7 separate regions of the Homo sapiens genome follow, and all the other regions are linked to region 5. The links are contacts of gene promoters, found by promoter capture Hi-C in blood cells and fetal thymus (Javierre and others, 2016). All regions are on one chromosome and are shown on one strand. The core of a region is centred on a gene start or on the middle of the fragment in contact, and the rest is flanking DNA. Distances in the headings are between cores, read along the strand shown. Region 1 has its middle 81 kb from the start of C7orf33. Region 2 overlaps LOC124901766 (a long non-coding RNA gene). Region 3 has its middle 17 kb from the start of C7orf33. Region 4 has its middle 100 kb from the start of C7orf33. Region 5 holds the start of EZH2 (enhancer of zeste 2 polycomb repressive complex 2 subunit). Region 6 overlaps C7orf33 (chromosome 7 open reading frame 33). Region 7 has its middle 50 kb from the start of C7orf33.

Evidence for each region. Contacts are between HindIII fragments. The CHiCAGO score rates a contact against its expected background, and 5 or more counts as called.
Region 1: a fragment that was not itself captured here is called in contact with the fragment with the promoter of EZH2 in region 5 in 10 of 17 cell types (activated CD4 T cells, naive CD4 T cells, monocytes and 7 more); the score reaches 10.0 in activated CD4 T cells.
Region 2: a contact is called between a fragment that was not itself captured here and the fragment with the promoter of EZH2 in region 5, in 4 of 17 cell types (activated CD4 T cells, non-activated CD4 T cells, naive CD4 T cells and 1 more). The highest score is 7.6, in activated CD4 T cells.
Region 3: a contact is called between a fragment that was not itself captured here and the fragment with the promoter of EZH2 in region 5, in 6 of 17 cell types (activated CD4 T cells, naive CD8 T cells, monocytes and 3 more). The highest score is 10.5, in activated CD4 T cells.
Region 4: a fragment that was not itself captured here is called in contact with the fragment with the promoter of EZH2 in region 5 in 2 of 17 cell types (monocytes and M0 macrophages); the score reaches 5.5 in monocytes.
Region 6: a fragment that was not itself captured here is called in contact with the fragment with the promoter of EZH2 in region 5 in 1 of 17 cell types (activated CD4 T cells); the score reaches 6.4 in activated CD4 T cells.
Region 7: a fragment that was not itself captured here is called in contact with the fragment with the promoter of EZH2 in region 5 in 3 of 17 cell types (activated CD4 T cells, naive CD4 T cells and naive CD8 T cells); the score reaches 7.9 in activated CD4 T cells.

What each region holds. Positions count from the first base shown.
Region 1 is chr7:148,508,842-148,511,541 of GRCh38, forward strand. No RefSeq gene overlaps it. Among named protein-coding and RNA genes, the nearest start is that of C7orf33, 81 kb to the right of the region's middle. The HindIII fragment of the contact is 1,529 bases long and covers 636-2,164 here.
Region 2 is chr7:148,556,108-148,558,807 of GRCh38, forward strand. The region is part of intron 2 of LOC124901766 (a long non-coding RNA gene); the gene reads right to left. Among named protein-coding and RNA genes, the nearest start is that of C7orf33, 33 kb to the right of the region's middle. The HindIII fragment of the contact is 1,788 bases long and covers 380-2,167 here.
Region 3 is chr7:148,572,641-148,575,340 of GRCh38, forward strand. No RefSeq gene overlaps it. Among named protein-coding and RNA genes, the nearest start is that of C7orf33, 17 kb to the right of the region's middle. RefSeq lists an enhancer at 1-170. The HindIII fragment of the contact is 3,907 bases long and covers 1-2,700 here.
Region 4 is chr7:148,485,937-148,488,636 of GRCh38, forward strand. No RefSeq gene overlaps it. Among named protein-coding and RNA genes, the nearest start is that of C7orf33, 100 kb to the right of the region's middle. The HindIII fragment of the contact is 380 bases long and covers 1,167-1,546 here.
Region 5 is chr7:148,882,988-148,885,687 of GRCh38, forward strand. It overlaps EZH2 (enhancer of zeste 2 polycomb repressive complex 2 subunit), which reads right to left and starts at 1,304. Exons shown (of 20, transcript NM_004456.5): 1 at 1,177-1,304. LOC124901767 (a long non-coding RNA gene) reads left to right here and starts at 2,202. Exons shown (of 2, transcript XR_007060579.1): 1 at 2,202-2,496. RefSeq lists silencers at 468-1,057, 1,218-1,587, 1,708-1,937 and an enhancer at 558-1,249. The HindIII fragment of the contact is 14,290 bases long and covers 1-2,700 here.
Region 6 is chr7:148,592,934-148,595,633 of GRCh38, forward strand. The region is part of intron 1 of C7orf33 (chromosome 7 open reading frame 33); the gene reads left to right. Among named protein-coding and RNA genes, the nearest start is that of C7orf33, 3.5 kb to the left of the region's middle. RefSeq lists a silencer at 990-1,190. The HindIII fragment of the contact is 5,446 bases long and covers 1-2,700 here.
Region 7 is chr7:148,539,086-148,541,785 of GRCh38, forward strand. No RefSeq gene overlaps it. Among named protein-coding and RNA genes, the nearest start is that of C7orf33, 50 kb to the right of the region's middle. RefSeq lists a silencer at 1,039-1,239. The HindIII fragment of the contact is 314 bases long and covers 1,146-1,459 here.

The DNA.
Region 1 (2,700 bases), core at 150-2,649, 370 kb before region 5:
ATATTCTAGATACAAGTCCTTTGTCTGATATGTCATCTGTAAATATCTTCTCCAAGTCCGTAGCTTGACTTTTCACCTTCTTCATGGGGTCTTTTGCACTGCAATCGTTTTTAATTTTGACGAGGTCTAGTTTATCAATTTAACCTTTTATGGATTGTGCTTTCGGTGCCAAGTCCAAGAATTCTTTGCCTAGATCTAGTTCCCAAAAATTGTCTGCTATAATTTTTTCCAAAATTTTTATAGTTTTGTATTTTACATTAAGTCTTTTATCCATTTTGAGTTAATGTTTGCATAAGCTGTGAGACTTACCCAAGGTATTAGACTCTTTTTTTTTTTTTTTTTTTTTGACCATGAATGTCAAATGGCTCCAGCACCATTTGTTGAAAGACTATCCTTCCTCCATGGAACTGCTGTTGTATTTTTGTCAAAAATCAACTAGCCATATTTCTGTGGGTCTTTTTGTGGGTTATCTGTTCTGGTCCATTGATACATATCTATCCCTCTGCCAATACCACATTGTCTTGATTACTATAGTAATATAGTAAGCCTTAACGTTGCGTAGAGTGGTCCCTTCCTTCCACTTTATTCTTCTTTCACAAGATTGCTTAGGGCCTGTGCCTTTCCATAATAGAATAAGCTTATCTACAAAGATTCTATCTGGGATTCTGACAGAAACTGCATTAAACTTACAGACCAGTTTGGGGAGAATTGACACTTTTTTTTTTTTTTTTTTTTTTTTTTTTGAGATGGAGTCTCACTCTGTCGCCAGGCTGGAGTGCAGTGGCGCAATCTCAGCTCACTGCAAAGTCCATCTCCCTGGTTCAAGCGATTCTCCTGCCTCAGCCTCCTGAGCAGCTGGGATTACAGGTACACCCTACCACACCCAGCTAATTTTTGTATTTTTAGTAGAGACAGGGTTTCACCATGTTGGCCAGGCTGGTCTTGATCTCCTGACCTTGTGATCCACCTGTCTCACCCTCCCAAAGTGCTGGGATTACAGGAGTGAGCCACCACACCCAGCTGAGAGTTGACATCTTTACTGCGTTGAGTTTTCTAATCCAAATAGATGCTGAATTTTCTCAAATGCTTTTTTATATATTGAGATGATCATATATCATTTCTTTTTTAGTATTTTGATATAATGAGTAAAATTTTTATATTGCCTAACATTCAACCAATCTTGCATAATTGGGCTTAATAATTTGTTTGTGCTTACATTTGTGAATGCATGTATCTGTATATGATTGCTACATTGCTAGATTAGGTATACTAAAATTTTATTTAGGATTGGGTTCTAAATCAATGACTGATTTTTCTCTTTCATGCTGTCCTTGCAGTTTTGGCTTTAAAATTACATTATCCTCAGAAAAATGAGTTATTGTTTTCCTTCTATTTTTTAGGAGAGTTTCTTTACAAGTAAAATATTTCTTTGAAGTTTTGTTAGGACACCTCTGTTTGGTTTGGTGTTTCTTTTGCAGGCAAATTATTAACTACTTACCGATTCAAGTTCCTTCATCTTAAATTCATTGGACACATATTTTTCTAGGTCCATATCCATTTACTCTGAGTTTTCAAATATGTTAGCAAAAGTTGTTTGTGATATTCTCTTATCTTTGTAACCAGCTGCAACTGTAGTTACACCTCCCTTTTTAGTACAGGTATCGTGTATTTGTGCCTTCTCTGATTTTTCTTCAATTAACCTTGTTTGAGGTTTGGTTATTTATTTATTTATTGAGACAGAGTCTCGCTCTGTCACCCAGGCTGGAGTGCAGTGGCATGATCTCGGCTCACTGCAACCTCCGCCTCCCGGGTTCAAGTGATTCTCCTGCCTCAGCCTCCCGAGTAGCTGGGATTACAGGCGCCCACCACCATACCTGGCTAATTTTTGTGTTTTTAGTAGAGACAGAGTTTCACCACGTTGGCCAGGCTGGTCTCGAACACCTGACCTCAGGTGATCCGTCCGCCTCAGCCTCCCAAAGTGCTGGGATTACAGGAGTGAGCCACTGCGCCCAGCCAAGAGGTTTGGTAATTTTATTAATGATATCAAAGCTGCTCTGTATTACATGTTTATTTCCTTAATTTCTGCTGTTATATCTTCATTTTTTCCTTCCCTCATTATTTTTTAATTCATTTCACTGTTATGATTCCTACTTCCTAAGGCAAAAGCTTAGCTCATTAACTTTTAGGCTTTCTGCTTTCTGTTTTGTTGGAGTAGGGGGTGAGACTAATGATTTAAAGTGGGAAGGCGGTTGTATACATAATAATCAAACTGTAATGTAATATATACTACACTACAAGTAAATGCATGTTGTTATTTATTAACATATTTAGTTTTTATTTTATACAATTTCAAACATATATAAATAATAATATAATGGACCCCAGGTACCATGGCCCAGCTTCAAAAATGATGAAAATCATGGTCAAATTTGCATCAGAGATGTGGTCACTCACATCTGCCCCATCTTGTGTTATTTTGAGGCAAATTTCAGACACCATATGATTTCATCTATAAACATCTCAATATGTATCTATGAATTATAAAGAGTTTAAAAAAACAAAATGCCATTATCACAACTAAAAAAGTAGTAATAATTACTTCATATCATCAAATACAGACTCAGTGTTCAAATTTTGCAAGTCTTTCTTGTTTTTTGTTTGTTTGTTTTGTTTTTGTTTTTGTTTTTTTGAGACGGAGTC
Region 2 (2,700 bases), core at 24-2,523, 330 kb before region 5:
CTAGCTGCCTTTAAGATTTTTTTCTTTAGTATTGTCTTTGGACAGTCGGGTGACCAAGTATGCCTTGGTGATGTTCATTTTGTATAGTACCTCGCAGGTTTTCTCTGAATTTCTGGTATCTGGATATCAAGCTCTCTAACAAAATGAGAAAATTTTTCTTTAATTATTCCCTCAAATGTGTTTTCCAGGTTGTTTGCTTTTTCTTCTCTCTCAGGAAGGCCAATAATTTGTATGTTTGGTTGCTTTACAAAATCCCATATTTCTTGAACATTGTTCATTTTTTTAAATTCTTTTTTCTTTATTTTTGTCTGACTGAATTAATTTGAAAGACCGGTCTTCAAGTTCTCAAATTCTTCTGCTCAGTCCAGTCTATTGACAAAGCTTTCCACTGTATTTTGAAATTCCTTAAGTGAGTTTTTCAATTCCAGAAGCTCTGATTTCTTTTTAGGATGTTTACCTCTTCCATCATTTACTGGATTGCTTTAGAAGTTTCTTCATATTGATTATTAACCTTGTCTTGGATCTCATTGAGCTTCCTCGTAATTCATGCTTTGAATTTATTAGCTATTTCTTCATTTCCATTTTAGTTAGGGACCATCGCTGGAAAGCTAGTGTGATCCTTTGGTGGTGTCACCACATTCGGATTTTTGATGGTGCCAGAATTTTTATATTGATTCCTTATCTAGAGATGCTGGCACTTCTAATTTTTGTAATTATTTTCATGAAGGTAGGATTTTTTTTCTTTTTTCCCCCATAATGTTATTTTTTTGTTGTTACTACTCTTTTCTTTCTTTCTCCCCCACCCTCCACTCTTTAGTGGGTGTGACTATAGAGAATGCTTGGTGAGGTCATTTGGCTTTGCTTCTACAGCCCTATGCACTTCTGTCAGCAGGTTTTATATTGGACTATGCAGTTTGACCTACAAGCTGTAGATGGCACTTATAGGTAAGAGCCTGCTGCTGCCAACATGACTGGGTATATACTTGATCCTTGTTTACTGGGAGAAGTTTCTCTGTTGCCTCAGGTAATGCGCTGATTTGTGGAGTGCACAATGGTCTGACTCCCTGCTCAGCCCCTTCATGGGCGGGGGTAGGGAGCCAACACTGGTGAAGCCAGACCAGGCAGGTCCACCTACGGTCCCTGATGGCAGGCACAAGCACCAGTGCTAACTGAGAATCCAGTAAGCTGTTGCCAAGTGCCCAAAGGCTTGCCTAGGCAGGGAGTTGGGAAACTTCCTTGACCCCAAGTTCTCTGCACAGAGATGGAGGCAGCCTAAATTCCTAATCCAGGAGAGTAGGTGCTCCAGATGCCTGGAGATCTGCCTGGGTGTGGAACAGAGAGGGCCCCCTTGTACCAGGGTTTCTGCCCATGAAGGATATGGCTCAGGCTGATCCAGACAAGCAAGTGCTCCGAGTGCCTGGATTTCTGCCTAGGGGTGAAGCAAAGAGGGCCCCACTGCACCATGATCTCAAAGGAGCAGTTGGGGCACACAGTAATGGCACACACAGACCACCAAGGTGGTCACCAACCTGGCCCTAGCTACAAGTCTCACTGCCCAGGAGAAACTACAGCTGTAGAAGCTCTCCTCCCACCGGAGACTTGTGTTGGAAGAGAGCACAATCCCAGAACCTACTGCTGAGGAGCTTTCCACAGTTCTGACTGTAGAGGTTCCTACCCTGCTCTAGAGGAGGTGCTCCAATCTCCGGCCCAAGACTAAAATTCCTGCATGACTATGCTGTTAGGTCGCCAAATAATGGCTGACTTTGTATGCCTCCAGATTAAAAATGGTGTCCTGCTCTTGATCCTGGGTCTGGAAAAATGTCTATAGCTTTGTCTGGTGTCTGTCCTCAGCATCTACAACACTGTCCCCACATTAGCTCCAGGGCTTGGAAGAATGAAAGTGCTCTCCCTCAGCCTGGATTGCTGAGATCCCCGGTGGAAAGGTGAGTCATAGAGGGAGGTTCTCTGCCTCTCTCACACATGGGGGCTTCACTAACTTTAATCAGTGGGATGCCATCATGGAGGCTGTTTACCAGTATTCTCCTCCACAGGATCTGGGGCGTCCTTCATGATTCTGGTGGATTTCCATTTTTCTTCTTGAATTAAACTCACAGAGTTGATCTTTGTGCACCATCTTGCTATTTCCAAGTGGCTGAGGCATGCTGAAAGCTTCCAATCCACCATGTTGGGAAAAAAAGGTGGGGAGTGCTTTCTTTTTTTATTCTCTTCTTTCCTGCTTTTAATTAGCTTTCCTTTGTTCTTTTTTTTCACTATTAATTGATAAGTTTACATTATTTTACTATTTTTCTCAGGTTATCCTTAAATTTAATATTTTATAACAAAACCTACAGTCAATTAATTTCTATCTTACTCTACTTCCAACCTCCAGGCAAGAAGAGAATCAGTTCACTTTTATTCTACCTTCCCTGGCCCTCCTCCATTACCTCCATTTCCTGTGACTTTCATAGTGATGTGGTCTGGGATGTTAGGTGTTAGGTTCAATATTTTTTTCAATTTATAAATAATAAAATCGTATTTAATAAAAAAAATGTTGTGGGTTTTGGGTTTTTTGTTGTTGTTTTTGTTGACCAATAGTTTCCTGTATCTCACTATTTCCCCCTGGATTCATTATTCTTCTTATTGGAGCCCCAAGAATTCCTTCAATGAATATCTAAAAATTGTAAATCGTCTGAGCTCTCA
Region 3 (2,700 bases), core at 140-2,639, 310 kb before region 5:
ACATAACAAAATTTAACAGATACGACATGCGTGGTTCTCTGTGGAAAAAAAAACTATAAATTTGCTTCAAAATTCATGTACTGAGGAACAAACTTGAATGTTTACTTTTTTTAGGTTTTTAAAATACAGACTAACATAACTGCCAAATAATTTAGACAGAGTTATATTTATACTTCCACATTTCTCCCCTATAATTCATTCTCCTTTGCTTCCCCAGAGAAAGGGGGACGTGTAAGAATATTTATATTCAGCCCTCACTTTGTTGTAAAATCAAAGACCTAAGTAAATAGAGAGGAATTCTGCTTTAAGCTGTGAGAGATCTGTTATCATAATCAGAAGGTAAAAGTAATTTACCAAAGATAAGCATTCAAGCCCTAAATTTTTATCAAGAACAGAAATGTTTCTTAAAGCATGAAGTGTTTTACTAAGTTTTATACAGTTAGGAAAATGCCAATAAAATTTTCACTACCTGTTTTCGTAATAAAATGAATACTGCTGTATTTCATTTTCTGAATTCTGCCTTCATTTTCTTCAGTAAAACTGAAAATTGCACTTAGGAACAGACACACCTGAAAATATATTCAACTGTATTTATCTCACCTTTCAAGGTGAAATTCCAGATTTTAAAATTGTAGTTATCTCAGATGATTACCAGAATGCGATGTAATGATATCTTGCATTTATGATTATTGATGCACCTTTTTATAGATTCATTTTAATGTTGAACTACTTATTTTATATGCATTGATGAGCATAACTGTAATTAGTTGCCTAGTTTGGTAAATGAGTACCTGGGATAATTTATGAGTGCTTCTAATTTTTTTTTCTTTATGTCTTCTAAAAAAAAATGGGATACATGTGCAGAAGGTGCAGGTTTGTTACATAGGCATACGTGTGCCATGGTGGTTTGCTGCACCTATTGACCTGTCCTCTAAGTTCCTTCCCATCACCCCCCACCCCCAACAGGCCCTAGTGTAAGTTGTTCCCCTCTCTGTGCCCATATGTTCTCAATGTTCAACTCCCACTTATGAGTGAGAACATGAGGTGTTTGGTTTTCTGTTCCTGTGTTAGTTTGCTGAGGTTGATGGCTTCCAGCTTCATCCATGTACCTGCAAAGGACATGATCTCATTCCTTTTCATGGCTGCATAGTATTCCATGGTGTATATGTGCCATATGGTTCCATGTCTTTGCTATTGTAAATAGTGCTGCAAGAAACATATGTGTGCATGTGTCTTTATAGTAGAATGATTTATATTCCTTTGGGTATATACCCAGTAATGGGATTGCTGGGTCAAATGGTATTTCTGGTTCTACATCCTTGAGGAACCACCATACTGTCTTCCACAATGGTTGAACTAATTTACATTCCCACCAACAGTGTAAAAGAGTTCCTATTTCTCCACATCCTCTCCAGCATCTGTTGTTTCCTGACTTTTTAATAATCGCCATTCTGACTGGCATGAGATGGTATCTCATTGTGGTTTTGATTTGCATTTCTCTGATGATCAGTGATGTTGAGCTTTTTTTCATATGTTTGTTGACTGCAGAAATGTCTTCTTTTGAGAAGTGTCTGTTCATATTCTTTGCCCACTTTTTGATGGGGTTGTTCGTTTTTTCTTGTAAATATGTTTAAGCTCCTAGTAAATTCTGGATATTAGACCTTTGTCAGATGGGTAGATTGCAAACATTTTCTCCCATTCTGTAGGTTGCCTATTCACTCTAATGATAGTTTCTTTGGCTGTGCAGAAGCTCTTTAGTTTAATTAGATCCCATTTGTCAATTTTGGTTTGAGTGCTTCTAATTTTTAGTTCAGGCTTGACATTTTGATATTGACTTGAGTACTTTATATACCTTGCTGGATATTTTTGATAATTCACACTTACAATGAAGAATATAACTACAGAAACTTATAAGCATAAAGTTAAGCCTGGAATTTATTCATTCAATATTTATTTTTTTGAAATATAATGAGCTTCTGCTGTTTAAAAAGGACTCTCCAACCTGAAAAGCAATTTCTAAAGATATTTATTTTCTTCAAGTCAACTGTATTAGCTATGAATTAGAAACCTAATTTATTTTAAAACTTGAAGCTCTATTTTTAAATCTGGCTATTTTATTTATAAACCTAACTAATTTTTTATGAAAAAGAACAGCCACTTCTTTTTGTCCCTTTATTAATATTTCGATGAACTCTTACCTGACCAAATCATCTTTAAATGTTTAACATGACTTAGAAAATTAAATTCCCTTAGACACTTAAACTCTGATTACAAAATTAACACATCTGGTTCTCTCACTTCAAACACCTAAGAAAATGTCTTAGCTTAAGTTATCTACCCCCGTTGTGTAGCAGTAAGCCTGCCTTCTCATGACAACCTGTCACCTGTCAGCATACTGGCTCCCTCATTGCCTGCTGTCCACTGCCAGGAGGAGACCAAATGACCTGGCCAGTTGGCATCGACAGCTTTAGGTATGGTGGAAACCATATTGTATTCCCTATTGAAAGTGTCCAGACAAGAATTCATGTAAAAGTGGGCTGGGCGCGGTGGCTCACACCTATAATCCCAGCACTTCGGGAGGCCAAGGCAGGCAGATCACTTGAAGTCAGGAGTTTGAGACGAGCCTGGCCAATATGGTGAAACCCCATCTCTATTAAAAATACAAAAATTAGCCAGGCCTGGTGTAATCCCAGCTACTCG
Region 4 (2,700 bases), core at 107-2,606, 400 kb before region 5:
GGAACCAGAGAGGGTGTGACTGCCTTGTTTTATAGCCGTATATTCATTACAGATGGCTAAAGGAGAGGAAAAATTAAAAGGAGGACGCAAAGTTGCCCTTGTTGCAAGCAAACTGCCTCTGTTTTTCTTAAATTGTTATGGATTGCCGAAGCTGGAAGAAAACCTGCGTAGTTCCGGGTGCCAGCTCCTGGTCTGGTAGAAAGTTATTCTGACAAGCCATGGTGTGCACCTATATGTGTTTGGATAAGAGCACTGGGGGACCCCCATCCACACACTAAAGGAGGTTTAAGAAACTCAGGCCATGAACGGCTAAAGCACAGGGCTTGGTTTCAGAGAGCCAGAGAAGGTTAGAGCTAGAAAGAAGTTGTTTTACAGATGGGGAAACTGAGTCCTGAAGAGGATGCTTAACTTGCCCAAGGTCACGTGTCTAGTAGACCACTGGAAACTCTCTTGATACCTGGAGCCCTTCAATAAATGGGCAGGTAAACTGGTCTAATCTTTCTGGAAAGCAACTCGGAAATTGATCATATGCTTAGAGCCAGGACTTCCTGCCCATACTGACTTTTTTTTTTTTTTTTTTTTTTTTTTTTTGAGACAGAGTCTCAGTCTGTCGCCCAGGCTGGAGTGCAGTGGCGCCATCTCCGCTCAATGCAAGCTCCGCCTCCCGGGTGCACGTCATTCTCCAGCCTCAGCCTCCCAAGTAGCTGGGACTACAGGCACCCGCCACCACGCCTAGCTAATTTTTTGTATTTTTAGTAGAGACGGGATTTCACCGTCTTAGCCAGGATGGTCTCAATCTCCTGACCTTGTGATCCGCCCACCTCGGCCTCCCAAAGTGCTGGCATTACAGGGGTGAGCCACCGCGCCTGGCCACCATACTGACTTTCAAGCTGCAGAAGTGGGGCCTTTCCCTAGCCTTGCGCTTTGGAGAGCCCCTCCCTTCCCACCCTGCCGCGGGTGTCATCTCCCCACCAGGCAAGGAGTAGGAAGAGATCAGGGAACATGCCCATGCCTCACCAATCCCCCTAGATCACACTCCAGCTTCCTGGAACTCTGGAATTCCCTGCCCAAGCAGTCCTAAGCCAGCTTCCAGGACCTGAGCATATCACCCAAAGGGTAGCAAGGCGTGAAGGTTTATGGGAAGGGAAAGTGTGGTCAGCCCTAGAAGCTTCAGTGTGCAGGCTGAGGTGCCAACACGCATGCGCACAAGCCCCCTCCCAGTGAGAGACAAAGCTGGGGGTGGGAAGAGGAGGCGGTCAGGCCCCGGGTCAGTGCCTGGGGTCCGTTCTCCCCACGCCAGCATGTTCCATTACAGAACTCCAAGGAACCTACAAATTCTAAATTCAAACCTTGTATTTCAGGCCATTTTGAAGGTATATTTGTCAAGGTAGATGGCTAGAATATATCTTATATAAATTATCAATTTGTTTGCTTGATTTATAACTTAAATATCTAGACACATTTTTACTTTTGCTCTGAGCTCAGCAAATCAGGAATAGACTGATTTTTCTCAATACTCAAAAGACATAATCAGAAATGCAAACAAAGCTTTATGCACAAAGATATTTAAAGTATATTTTATAAGAGCCAAGAATATGTATCATCTTAAAAGTCCAATATTAAGTGAAGTATTAACTAAATTATATTATACCCTAGATGTAAGATCTCTCAAAGATTTTAGGCTTGAATGATTGGAGATGGAGGAAGAACAAGTTGCAGGAGACGGTGAGGAGTTGCAAACCAAGAGTTCCATTGTGGACATATTATGTTTGAGATGCCTGCAGGCAAGCAGGTGGTTGGTTATACAAATCAAGAACACAGGGCTAGAAATATAAATTTGAGATTCACATAAATAGAATTATCATGTATATATGATCATATCAATATGATTACATCTATATATAAAACCATTGGAATCATATATGATCATATGGATAGATGTAATATCTATTGGTTGGTTTAAGCCACTCTACTGAGAGCCGTAGGGCAATGCCTATGGCGAGAGGGGAAAACACTTCTCTTTCTGAAGCCATCAGGCCTCTTCCTCAGAACACTTGCTTCCTTTCAACCACATCCAGCCTTGTTCCATTAAGGCCCCTTCTGGCTCCCTCTCTTTTACCATAGACTTGAGTGTTTCAGGCCTATTGATGCACTACAGCATTCCGCATGAGCTTTGGAAAAGAGCCAGTAATGGATTAACCCTTTCTACAGCTGAAGTTCAAAGTGCTCCCCCAAGACGGAAGCAGTGAAAGAGAAGGTGGACCACAAACTGCACCCTCCTCCCTCCCCAGGAATCTCACTAAGCTCCAGAAAGAGCTGCAGGTGTCCAAATCAGCAGTGGGTCTCACTGCAATGTGAGTGCATCCATCTTTTTGCTGTTGGGCCCTCAGTGTGGATAAAGAGAAAAAACAAGAGGAAATGTCCTTCAGGGTCGGTTTCATCCTGGACACAGGATAAAGTGGGACACAGGGCCACGTTCCTCTCTTCTACAGGATTCAAACACTCAGCAACACTGCAGTCAAGGGCAAATACATGCATACATGGTTAAATAATTCTGTTTTGCTTCAGGGGGAATTTTGTTGTTTTTTTGTTGTTGTTGTTTTTTGAGATGGAGTCTGGCTCTGTTGTCCAGGCTGGAGTGCAGTGGCACGATCTCGGCTCACTGCAAGCTCCGCCTCCTGGGTTCACGCCATTCTCCTG
Region 5 (2,700 bases), core at 54-2,553:
TAAACACACATTTGTCATAGCCATTCTATTTTGATCACCTACTTCTACCACCTCATCCTCATTCAACCCGTCGGGATTTGGGGAATAATCTGGCTGAATGACAGTTGATTTCGTTAGCACCTGTCGCCATTCTCAGATGTATCACACAAGTTGGCCAAAACAGCTTGTAATGTTTAAGGATTACGATTCTTTAGAAAGTGGCAACTCACTAGGCGTTCACCAAGTTTTCCAAAAGATCGTGCTTCTCGATTCCTCCCGCTTTCAAAAAGTAACCCTGTGGCACAGATTTTTGGGGGGAACGGAAGGGGATGTACACAATGAAGTGGGAATTCAACAGGACGCCCTCCAGAAACACAATCAATAGAGAGCAGAGCAGCTCGACTCTTCCCTCAAACTTAGCATAAAGCCAGACCAGGCGGCGAGGGCAGCCCGCGACCGCCGGAGCTCAGGGGGATTTCGGGGTGCGTCGTGGGGAAACGTCAGAGGCGAAGCTACTCCGAGTTCCCCGCCGCGAACGTCGTCCCGCGAGCGCCGCGGCCCCAGCCCGGGGTCGGCGCGCCCGGGACCGGGGGCGTGCGCGAGGCGAGGGCCGAGCCCTGCCCACCCCGGCAGCGGCCCGCGCCTCCCCACGCCCCTCTCCCGCCCGCCGGCGGGCCCGGGTGTCATGCCCCTTCCCCTCGCGCCGAGCCCTCCGGAGACACAGTCCGTCCTTTGTCTGAGTGCGGACTCGGCGGCTGGGTCCCACCAACTTGTGTCTGTCCCGTCCCACCCGGGCGCTCCCGCCGCGGCCGCGCCACACAAAGGAGACTTGAGGCTCGAGCTGCCACCCTGGACCGGGCACCGGAACGCCCCGACCCCGGCCCCGGCGCCCCGGCCAGGACAAGCACCGGGAAAGGAGCCCCCCACACGCCCCCCGCCCCGCAGCTCCAGGGGTGTGCGCTGCCTCACTCGCAGGGTCCCGCGGGCCAGCCCGAAGCTCACAGCTCCTTCCGGGGAGGGGGGCTCTCCCCTCACCCTCCACCCCCCGCACGCCTACAAACGCGGCGCCCCGGTGAGCCCCGCTCGGCGATACCCGGGACCGGCACAGCAGTGGCGGGGAGGTCCTGGCGCCGCCGCCGCCGCCCGGTTCGCACTCCCGGAGCCCCGCCGGCCGGGCCGCCCGCAGCGGCGCGTTACCTTCGTCCCGCGCGCCGACTCGCGTTGTTCCCGCGCGTCGCCCCCGCGCGCCGCCGCCGCCGCCGCCGGGGCTCCACTGCCTTCTGAGTCCCACCGGGTGTCGGACGCGACCGGACCGAGCGCCAAACGCGGCAGCCCAATCGCCATCGCTTTTATTTGGCCCCCCCAGCCCAATCAAGCGCCGCCCCGATTGGCGGGACGCGAGGCGGGCGCCCGTCCAATCACAGGGCCCGCCGGGCTCGGAGGCGCCGAGCCAGCCCCACGCAGAGTGCGCTCAGGGCTCGTGGGCGGGCGGGCACTGGCAGCGCGTGCGCGCGCGGGCGGCGGCGGGGTTCGCTGTAAGGGACGCCACTGGCCGTGTGGAAGCGCCGCCGCCGTCTCTTTGTTCTTTCGCTGAACACACGGCGCCTCTCAGGAAGGCGGTGTGCAGGCACGCGGGGACCGGGAGACATCGCGGGGGCCCGGAGCCCGCCGCGGACGGGAGGCGGGGAGGATAGGTGGCGGGAACCGGCCGAAGGGCGGGACGAAGCGCCGGCGGCTCTTGGCGGGAACCGGCGCCGCAGAGTTCCCGGGCGGGGGAGGGGCGGGGCGGGTGCTGGAAGCCAAGTTTGAACCAGTTCAAAACTCGGGGGTGGTAACGGTTTTAACCGCCGCGCTCGTTTCCCCGCGCGCGGAGCCGAGGCCCGGGCTGGCCGCTCCTAGTGGTGCCCGGGGAGGGGAGGGCGCGGGCCCCGGAGGTCGGCTCAGCTGTGGCGCCGCGTTTGCCGGGAGACGCTCGCCCGGCCCGCGCGCTGCCGCCGGACCCGTTACTACTTTTTTTTTTTTCTCCTGAGACGGAGTTTCGCTCTGGTTGTCCAGGCTGGAGTGCAATGGCGCGATCTCGACTCACCGCAACCTCCGCCTTCCGGGTTCAAGCGATTCTCATGCCTCAGCCTCCCGAGTAGCTGGATTACAGGCATGCGCCACCACGCCCGGCTAATTTTCTATTTTTAGTAGAGACGGGTCTTGGTCAGGCTGGTCTCGAACTCCCGACTTCTGGTGATCCGCCCGCCTCGGCCTCCCAAAGTGCTGGGATTACAGGCGTGAGCCACCGCCGCCGACCCGGGCCCTGTTTGATTATGTCTGCTGCTGCCTTGGCCGTTTTTTCCCCCACCGCTGGACTTTGGCTGGCCGAGCTTGCAGTGCTTATCGCCCTAGAAACCTGTGAAAGGGCGACATTGCTGCCATTTCAGACCCTTCCACTGTTCGTAGTTCTAAGCACGTGTCAGTGTTAAAAATCCTTTATCAAGATGAGCACTGTTCACTTGCCGCCTCTGCAAAGTGTGAGGATATTTGCAAGGCGCGGTGGCTCACGCCTGTAATCCCAGCACTTTGGGAGGCCGAGGCGGGCGGATCATAAGGTCAGGAGATCGAGACCATCCTGGCTAATAACGGTGAAACCCCGTCTCTACTAAAAATACAAAAAATTAGCCGGGCGTGGTGGCGGGCGCCTGTAGTCCCAGCTACTCGGGAGGCTGAGGCAGG
Region 6 (2,700 bases), core at 55-2,554, 290 kb before region 5:
GAGTTCTAATGATTCTCCTGCCTCACCCTCCCCAGTAGCTGGGATTACAGGCACCCACCACCACATCCTACTAATTTTTGTATTTTTAGTAGATACAGGGTTTCATCATGTTCACCAGGCTGGTCTTAAACTGCTGACCTCAAGTGATCCACCCACCTCACCTCCCAAAGTCCTGGGATTACAGGCATGAGCCAACATGCCTGGCCGACACGATTTAAATCTAATTAGATCACTGGAAGATACAGCAAAGTCTCAAAGTGGTTGTCTATGGATGGCACTATGAGTTACGTATTATTTTTCCAAAGCTCAGAATGTTCTGAATTTCTTTATTTTTGTTATTCATTTTGAGATGGAGTCTTGCTCTTGTTACCCAGGCTGGAGTGCAATGGCTCAATCTTGGCTCACTGCAACATCCGCCTCCTGGATTCAAGTAATTCTCCTGCCTTAGCCTCCCAAGTAGCGGGAATTACAGGCACCTGCCACCACTCCCAGCTAATTTTTTTGTATTTTTAGTAGAGTCGAGGTTTCACCATGTTGGCCAGGCTGGTCTCGAACTCCTGACCTCAAATCATCTGCTTGCCTCAGCCTCCCAAAGTGCTGGGATTACAGGTGTGAGCCACTGCAACTGGCCTGAATTTCTTTAAATAGAGAATCTCTATTGCCTTCATAATAACATGTTTTAAAGTTAGTTTTTATTTTAAATGTTAATTTGAAGTCAAAATGCTTTTCCTCTGACTGGGTGTTTAATGCATTTAGGAAAGGCTGAGCATGAAGCCAGGGTCGGGGGATACAGCCTGTTTGGAGGGGATTGTAGAAACGGAGACTCCCAACTGGGATTGACAGGAAAGGGTCAGAGCCCAGAGAGATGCCTGCTGGAAAAGAAGTGACATGGTTGAATATTTGCCCGGCTAAGTGTCATGCTGGAATGTGATCCCTAGTGTTGGAGGTGGGGCCTAATGAGAGGTGATTGGATCATGGGGGTGGATTTGTCATGAATAGTTTAGCGCCATCCTCTTGGTGCTGTCCTTGCGATAGTGAGTGAGTTCTCACAAGATCGGGTTGTTTAAGTGTGTGGCACCTTCTCTTGCTTTCTTGCTCTCACTTTTGCTGTTCGATGTGCCTGCTTCTACTTTGCCTTCCGTCATGAGTGAAAGCTCCTTGAGGCCTCCCCAGAAGCCGAGCAGACGCCATGTTTCCTGTACAGCCTGCAGAACCATGAGCCAATTAAACCTCTTTTCTTTTTTTTTTTTTTTTTTTCTGAGACAGAGTCTTCGCTCTGTCGCCCAGGCTGGAGTGCAGTGGTACGATCTTGGCTCACTGCAAGCTCCGCCTCCCGGGTTCGTGCCATTCTCCTGCCTCAGCCTCTCGAGTAGCTGGGACTACAGGCATCCGCCTCCATGCCAGGCTAATTTTTTGTATTTTTTAGTAGAGACGGGGTTTCACCATGTTAGCCAGGATGGTCTCGATCTCCTGACATTGTGATCTGCCCGCCTCGGCCTCCCAAAGTGCTGGGATTACAGGCGTGAACCACCGCGCCCGACCAACCTCTTTTCTTTATAAATTACCCAGCCTTAGGTATTTTACAGCAATGCAAAAACAGCCTAATACAAGAAGTAAGAGGAAAGATGATACCAACTTACCAGTAAGGGTACTAAGATGACACCCAAGTAAAATGCAGAACAGTTATCATTTCATTTGCTTGGCAGAAGGAGGGTGACAGTTTGTAGGGAGATATAATCCAACCAAATTGTTTAGGGAAATGTGAAACCAAATGGTTTAGGGAAAATATGATGAAATTCAATATATTTGAATTTGGGAATATATTCAATATATTTCAGTCCAATATATCCTTACAGAGTGAGGTTTGGCATGGTACCACTGTGGATCATTTGTCTTCTATTCAAAAGAAGGACAATGTCTATGTTAATGTTATGGTTCAGGAACCTAACAGCAAGTACAGCCTGCAGCCTGCACTCCCAGCCGCTCCTGCTTACATGAGACAACAGTGAGCCACAAGACAGTGTCCCCATCTGAACATGCTTGGCCCTGGGAATCATTAGGGACTCTTAAGAAGCAGAAAGTCCTGACCACCTAACAATGAGCACCAGCTTTTCACTTAATAGTTTCTGAATATTCACCAGGTCAGGTTTTCTTTTGTTTGTTTTGTATTTTTTGAGACAGGCTGGAGTGCAGTGGCACATTCACGGCTCACTGCAGCCTTGACCTCCTGGGTTCAAGTGATCGATCCTCCTGCTTCAGCCTCCTGAGTATATTATATAATATCTATATTATATGGATATATATTATATAGATATATATCATGTATAATATAGAGATATCTATATTATATAGATATATATTATATAGATATATAATATATAATATAGATATATCTATATAATATAGATCTATATTATATAGATATATCAAATATAATATAGATCTCTATTATATAGATATATCATAGATAATATAGATCTATATTATATAGATATATCTATATAATATAGATATATATTATATAGCTATATATATGCTATTATATATTATATATACTATAGATCTATATTATATATTATATAGCTATAGTATATATAATATAGATCTGTATTATATATAACATATAGCTATATAATATATATAATATAGATCTATATTATATAGATATACATATTATATATATTATATATAATATACATC
Region 7 (2,700 bases), core at 53-2,552, 340 kb before region 5:
ATGTCCATTACACCCCCTCACTCTCCATCTTCCACCATAGGTAGCCACTATCTTGATTTTCATGTTATTTAATCTTTTACTTTTCTTTCAATTCTACCCCGTATCTCTAAGCAATACATTATTGACTTTTGTCTGTTGTTCGCCTTTATGTAAATTGAACCACACTGGATGCATTCTTCTATGACTTGTTTTTTTGTTTTTGTTTTTAAGATTCACCAGTATTGATTCTTGGAACTATACTTTCTCCATTTTCACTGCGCATAGTATTCTGCCGTATGAATACGCCAAAATGTACCTATCCACCACTGTTAATGAACATATTGCATTGTTTTATATTTTTACTCTTATAACTAAGGATACTATACATACTCCTGCCAATTATAGTCCTTGTAATATGTTCCTCAGTGTAATTGCAGAGGTGCTAGAAGATTCAACTTTGTTAATTGATGCAAAATTGTCTTCTGATGCAGTTGTGCCTATTCATGCTCCTAACAGCATTGTGGGAGAGGCCTCTGCTTCACAGCCTCAGCAACACTTTATATTATTTTACTTTATTTTTTGCCAATTGAGTGTAAATTGATATCCCTTAGTGGGTTTTATTTTATTGTTTGAGACAGGGTCTTGCTCTGCCACCCAGGCTGGAGTGCAGTGGTGTGTCCATAGCTCACTGCAACCTTCATTTCCGGGCCTCAAGCGATCCTCCCACCTCGGCCTCCCAAAGCGCTGGGATCAGAGGCGTGAGTCATCTCACCAGGCCAGTGGCTTTAAAATTTATATTTTCCCACTTGCTAATGAGGTGGAACATTTTTTCATAAACTTATTGGCCATTTATGTTTTTTCTTCTGTGAAATGTTCATTCATGTCTTTTGCCTATTTTTAAATGTCTTTTTTTTAGTGATTGATTTTTTCATTTATTTAAAAAAATTTTTTTCTTAAAGATTGGTAAGAATCTTTTTTACGTATTCTGGATTCTAATCTTTTGTCCATTCTATGTGTTACAAATAACTGTTCTGGAACTCCTAAAAGAAGATCCCTATTTAGGAATCCTGTCCCAAAAGGATTCACGTCTCGAGTACCAAGTCTGGTGACTCAGCTCAGAGCAGCAGATTCCTGAGTGCTGAGGTTGCAGGGTGCAGCCAGGGCCAAGCTTAGTTTTCCTACTGGGGCAATACAGATGAATAGAAGTCCTGTGACCACTGCATCCATGGTGCTGGTAACCAAACCTAGAATTCTGGGGCTCCAGACAGCGTCTGGGATGCTCTCTGGAGACACAATCATGGGCAAGGGTTTCTATTGTCCCTTCTTCTTCAGCAGTTCTCAGCATCATCTCAGCAGTTCTCAGTTCCCACAAGCTGCCTCCTGCCCGCTTGTCATCAGAGCTGATTGGTCCAGGGAGGCTGAGGAGCCTAATGACCACTCCTGTTCTGTGTGGTCAACGTCCAGCTGGTCAGCGTCCAGAAGCTTCTGCTCAGCAAATAGCCTTTGGCTGCTCACGCACAGCCTCTCTAGCGATGTCTCAGCTCAGTTTTTCAGCGGCTGGCTGGGCTTTTTCAAGGCCCAGCCAGGGTAAGAAATAGCTTGGAGTCTGCCTGCTGTGCCTGGAGAAAGGCAACCCATGTCAGGCTCCGCAGCAGCTCACTGCCAGCACCCTCTAGGCGCTCATCTAATGCGCAGGGAGGCAGAACACAGCTCTCCATGCTCCCTGAAGAGGCCTTTCACAACGCAGAGAAAGAGAGCCCAGCAATACCCCTGCAATGTGTGGGGGACTGAGGTCTCAGAAACAGCCTCTTTGTCAGTATGAAAACAAAGACATGGACCTAAAGTCCTAAATTGTGTTTTCCAAAAGGCAAATACGTAAAATATGTAAACCAACTTTACTTCAACCTTGATTTACAATAACTTTTCCAGATCTGAGAAAATTCCCCAAATTAAAAATCCAAAATGGATTCCCTTGGCATGTTTGAAAACATGCTTCCTCTCTGGTCCAACTATTTTAAAATTCTACTGAATTTTTAAATTTACCGTGGCCGGGCATGGTGGCTCGCACCTATAATCCCAGCACCTTGCAAGGCCGAGGTAGGTGGATCACCTGAGGTCAGCAGTTCAAGGACAGCCTAGCCAACATGGTGAAACCCTGTCTCTACTAAAAATACAAAAATTAGCTGGGTGTGGTGGCACACGCCTGTTATCCCAGCTACTGGGGGAGGCTAAGGCAGGAGAATCACTTGAATCTGGGAGGCAGAGGTCGCAGTGAGGTGAGATCGCGCCATTGCACTCCAGCCTGGGTGACAAGAGCAAAACTCTGTCTCAAAATAAATAAATAAATTAAATTAAAATAATTAAAATTCTAGAGGTGAAGAAAAAACCCTGGTCCTTTATTTTCCGTGAGTGCCCTCAGTACCCCAAAAGAGGGAAAGCTCCCTTTCTGGAGAGGAATTCATTATCTCCACTAGAACTACCTTCCATTGTACACGTTAATTCACATGAGGCAGGCTATCAGGAAGTGAAATCTCTGGGTACCATGAAAACTTATTTCAGTTATTGATTTAAACTTCTTTTCCTGGGAAAAGTATAAAGAAAAAGAGCATCAGAGTTGATTCCATGTTTTAAAATAACCTAAATAGAGATACATTTGCCAATAAAATAACACGAAGTGAGAAAGAAGGGTAGACAGTGTCTAGAAACTAAGTTAACCCTCCT